2 separate regions of the Homo sapiens genome follow, and region 2 is linked to region 1. Evidence: promoter capture Hi-C in human tissues and cell types (Jung and others, 2019). All regions are on one chromosome and are shown on one strand. Each heading gives the region's core, a stretch centred on a gene start or on the middle of the fragment in contact. The rest is flanking DNA. Distances are from core to core; before and after follow the strand shown.

Evidence for each region. The method cuts DNA at HindIII sites, captures the fragments that hold promoters and counts their contacts. A contact is called where the count stands out against the background at its distance.
Region 2: a contact is called between a fragment that was not itself captured here and the fragment with the promoter of SOX5 in region 1, in 2 of the 25 tissues and cell types used here (dorsolateral prefrontal cortex and mesenchymal stem cells).

The regions. Positions count from the first base shown.
Region 1 is chr12:23,948,339-23,951,013 of GRCh38, reverse strand. SOX5 (SRY-box transcription factor 5) reads left to right here and starts at 1,344. Exons shown (of 15, transcript NM_006940.6): 1 at 1,344-1,450. The coding sequence starts at 1,413. The HindIII fragment of the contact is 5,378 bases long and covers 1-2,675 here.
Region 2 is chr12:23,856,434-23,859,108 of GRCh38, reverse strand. The region is part of intron 2 of SOX5 (SRY-box transcription factor 5); the gene reads left to right. Among named protein-coding and RNA genes, the nearest start is that of SOX5, 92 kb to the left of the region's middle. The HindIII fragment of the contact is 4,066 bases long and covers 1-2,675 here.

The sequences.
Region 1 (2,675 bases), core at 95-2,594:
CGTGAGTGAGTGTGTGTGTGTGTGTGTGTGTGTGTGCATGCGTGTGTGAAGAATGCACACTATCTCCTGTTGGTAAGTGTGTGCTTACTCCCTGACCAGATGCTGCGGTGCACGGGGCAGCCACCATCTCTGCATGCATGTCTGTGTAAGTGTCTCTCTCTCTGTGTGTATGTGCCTCTGTCATTTCGTGTCAAAGGTACATTACCTGATTACCTTTCTCGGCTGCCAGATTTTTATCTAGATAATTGGAACTGCTATGGAGGCTGTGCCTTGCCAGCCAGCTTAGAATCTGTAAAGCCATAGTTTGTCCACCTTGTTATCTGTGGCTGCCTGGGCAGAGGAAATTAAAGAGATCCACAGCCAGGGGGGCGCTTCCTACTCCTGACCTCCCCAGCGATCCCAAACAGGACAGTTTGTTAGTACCGTCTTTTTGTTTTTATGTTTTGATTTCGTTTTGGGTTTTTGTTCGCTCGTGTATGTTATTTTGGCATGTGGATACCTATTCCCCTCCACATCGCACATCGTGTTTTATGGAGTTTAGAGCTGAGGAAACTTTGGTCGGGTTGCCAGGACGTTCGCACCACTTTGCGGAAAGCACGAGCTAACAGTGAGACCGACAGAGTGAGTGACAAGTTGTTTACAGGTTTCCTTGAAGGGGCCTCTGCTATATTTCAATCTGTCAAAGTTGCTTTTCTTCCCTCAGAACAATGCCTGATTGTTGTGTGTGTGTGAGTGTGTGTGTGTGTGTGTGCGTGTATTTCCGTGTGTGAACGGAGAGAGCCTAGAAAAGGGTGAGAAGGAATAACAATTCTTTGTGTAAAAATGCTATTACTAACATTAAATTTTTTGCTTAATTAGTTAATAAATGCAGTTTAATCGAGCTTCTGTTATTATATAGACTAGGTTTTTAATCAGCAGCAAATACGTTTTACAAAATCATACTGTTCTGCGTGTGTATGTGTGTGTGTGAGTTTTATGATTTAGAAGACAGAGTATGGGAGACGTGTTAAATGAGTTGACTTCTCACATTCAGTGATGTCTAGAAGAGAGAATTAAAAGGAAAGGACAGGCACCCTGAGGTTGTCTAGAGCCTTGCAGCCGGAGCGTGTGGCTCCGCGGAGGGGGGAGCAGCCAGACTCCGCTGCTGGAAGTGCACTACCCCTTTAAGAGACTGGTCAAGGAGTCCTAGGAGAGAGAGGAGGGGAAGGAGGGGGGGAGAAAGAGAGAGAGAGAGAGAGAGAGAGAGACAGAGAGAGAGAGGGAGAGAGAGAGAGAGAGAGAGGGAGGGAGGGAGGGGGGGAAGAGACAGAGAGAAAATCAATTGGTTTAGAAGGTTTGGACTCACTTGACAGGTTCAGTTGGAGACGATCATAGGTGGCTGCTGTGACAAAGGGAAATTGTGCTTTTCCAGCATGCTTACTGACCCTGATTTACCTCAGGAGTTTGAAAGGTGAGTACAGTTTTTTCCCCCTAATATATTGAAGTACAACTCTCCCATTTTACAGTAGTCTCTGAATCATTGGAAGATGCTCCCCCAAAACGTGTTTGTTAGAGAAGCCTTTAGCTAGGGCTTCTGCAATCTTGTTAGCTGATTTTTTGTTGTGATTGCCCGGACCAAACTGAACTGATTTGCAAAGTCTCCGAGATTTCTGCTAATGTTTTTAGGTTGCGTCCTATAACAGCAAATTAAATGAACCTTAAGCATCTCTCTCTCTCTCCCCAACTCGCTGCTTCTGTCTTTCTCATTCACTCTCTTACTTTCTTCCTTCATTGATTGTTTTCTCCCCACCTTTTAAAAACGCTTTTGTGCAGAATGTTACCATTTTCAGCATCTCTGTCTCATGTAATTTCTAGGGTGACAGAAGGTTTTAGTGGTGCTTTAAACGGAGGCTATAAGTTCCTATTTGATCCTTCCGTAAAACTTTGGAAGCTGCTCAGTAAAGCACATGACCTTTTGTTGATATAAGAGAGCGTTTTTTCCCCCCAAAGAAAATTTAACATCATCGCTATATTAGATTACTCCCTAAGTGTCAAAAATAGGGGCGAAAAGGGGATAAATGGAGCTGTTCCCTTTCTAAGTTTTAGTGGCCACTTTTTGTGTTAGCTGTCTTGACTGAATTTTAATTTACTGTATTTTCCCCTTTTGCTATGATGGGAATAGTGTATTTGTAATTAAGTTGTTCCTATTTAGAGAAATATCTGCAGCATCCTTTTATTTGATGTTGTTGCAAGTAAAGCAGGGCTTTGAAAGAATTTTAGCCCTCTTAATGTTCCTATAAGTACACATTGCAATTTTTAAATTTGAGTTCTTATCCCAGCATAAGTTCATTTTTTTGAACTATAAATAGAATTTTGTTTGCCATTAAAAAGAATTCAAACTTTGTATTCTGTATGGTGAATTAAAAAAAAAAAAGCTAAAAAAAGCCAGGATGCATGATACCCAGGCTTTTTTTCATTTTCATGAAAGCTACCTTCTGTATAAACATTTGTTGTATCTGACTATGCAATGCAAGCTAGGTGCTAGACCAGCTGGTTAAAAATATGCTAAGTCAAGCTGTTCATCGCTCAAACGACTGAATTTGATATGAAAAGACGAAAAAAGAAAGGACAAAGATTAAAACATTCTAGAAGTGAAGCAATGGAAGAGAAAAAGAGTATTGAGGATAAAGTAACGC
Region 2 (2,675 bases), core at 50-2,549, 92 kb after region 1:
CCCTGATTTCATATTGTTCAAACACACATGTTTTACAATTTGTACAGTTAACGCAATCATCACAGGGTCCTGAAGTGACATACATCCTCAGCTAATGAAGATGATGGGATTAAGAGATTAAAGACAGGTGCAGGAAATTATAAGAGTATTGATTAGGGAAGTGATAAATGTCAATGAAATCTTCATAATTTATGTTCAGAGATTGCAGTAAAGACAGGCATAAGAAATTATAAAAGTATTAGTTTGGGGAACTAATAAATGTCCATGAAATCTTCACAGTTTATGTTCTTCTGCCATGGCTTCAGCTGGTCCCTCCGTTCAGGGTCCCTGACTTTCTGCAACAGTAAACAGTGCTGCAATGAACATTCACATGCAGGTTTCTGTAGAATGCCTTATATTCCTCTGGGTATATACTCAGTAATAGGATTGCTGAGTCAAATGGTAGTTCTGGCTTTAGTTCTTTGAGGAGTCACCATACTACTTACCACAATGGTTGAACTAATTTACACTCCCACCAACAGTGTATAAGGGTTCCCTCTTCTCTGCAACCTCACCAGCACCTGTTGTTACTTTCTGACTTTTTAATAATAGCCATTCTGACTGGTGTGAGATGGTATCTCGCTGTGGTTTTTATTTGAATTTCTCTAGTGATCAATAATATTGAGCTTTTTTTCATATGCTTGTTGGGTGCATGTGCGTCTTCTTTTGAGAAGTGTTTGTTCATGTCCCTTGCCCAATTTTAAATAGGGCTGTTTGTTTCTCTCTTGTTAATTTTAGTTCCTTATAGATGCTGGATTTTAGACCTTTGTGAGATGCATAGTTTGCAAATATTTTCTCCCATTCTGTAGGTTGTCTTTTTACTGTGTTGATAGTTTCTTTTGCTGTGCAGAGGCTCTTAAGTTTAATTAGTGATTTATTATTATTATTTTTTAGCGCTTCTCATAGGAAAGTAACATACATTGTAAAAAAACAAACAAAAAAACAACAAAGTGCACATATATGTACCTGCCTTGCATATACACACACACACACACACACATACAGGCATATTAAATTACAAATAAAAAAAACTCTTGGCCGGGAATGGTGGCTCATGCCTGTAATCCCAGCACTTTGGGAGGCCGAGGCAGGCAGATCACCTGAGGTCAGGAGTTCAAGACCAGCCTGGCCAATATGGCGAAACCCCGTCTCTACTAAAAATACAAAAAATTAGCCAAGTGTGGTGGCAGGCACCTGTAATCCCACCTACTCAGGAGGCTGAGGCAGGAGAATCGCTTGAACCTGGGAGGGGGAGGTTGCAGTGAGCCAAGATCGTGCCACTGCACTCCAGCCTGGGCTACAGAGCAAGACTCCACCTCAAAAAAAAAAAAAAAGAAAGAAAAAACTTCCTAAGTACACTGTCATCGATTATCACACATTGTGTATAGAGTATCTAACCATCTAAAAGTGGCTATTAGCCTTTTTCCATATGCCTTACACATTCCTGTCATTGTCCCTATAGAAGTAACTATCACCAGGCTATGGATGAAGAGGGAAGGGCAATGTACTCTGGAATGTGAACAAAAATAATCTGAATATATAAGGTTTGGAAAAGCTCCTTTCTGAGTGTAACCTATTTTCCAAAACAGTTGATAATCACAGATGACAGATAGATTTGATGGTTCTTTTCAACTCCCACTGCTACAATCTAGTGGAAGGCCTTTTATTGTCACATATGTGTCATGGTAACAGTTTCCTATTCAGTGGAGATCTTTACTTTCTCCTCTACCCAATTAATTCTACATACCACTGCTAGACTAATCTTCCTAACAAGCTACTTTAATAGAATCACTCACTGTAGATCAACAATAGTTCTCCATTGCCTGCTAGGTCAAATGTAAACTACCCTACTTGACTTTCATGACCCTTCATGAAATGACTCTCCTATATTAGTCTTCTATTTATTATTCTTCATTTCTTTTGGTTAAGCCACTTCCTTCATTGTAGTGTGTGTGTATATGCACTGTAAAATTTCCTGGGTGGTGCCTCTGGGAATGCTCTGTATCTTTTCCTCTTCACTTATTTCTTCTAGGCTTAAACTAAATGACTCTCTATACATGAAGATTTAATAAATTAATAATTAACTCAATATGAATTTATGGAACATTAATAACAAGGCATAGTGTGTGTGTGAATAATCAGACATGTTCCCTGTCTTCATGGTATAGAAAGAAAATTAAATGAACAATCCTAAAAGAGTGTGATTAGTACTATGATAAGAAGTTTTCCATTTTTCTTTGATTTCTAGCATTCTCTCTTCTCTAAACTTCTCTTGCATGTATAATTTGCTACTCTAAAAATTAGTACTTATTATAGTTGTTATGATTACTAATTATTTCAGGTGCATTTCAGTGCCTCTCAAATTTAATTTTAAACTCTTTGAAGAGAGAGAAAACCAGCTTTATTTTCTTATACCTTTGGCATATCTTGCAGCACCTGAATCAGTTGAGGAAGCTTAATGATGACCACAGCAAGGAGTTTAGAATTGAATCTTAGGTTTAATTCTCCAATTTACCATTTCCTACTATTATTTTGGGTAAACTACTTTTAGAACTTTAATTTCATCATATGTTAAATAGCAATAACATTTTTCAGGGAATTTCTCTGAGAATTATTTGTTAAAAGCCCATAGAACA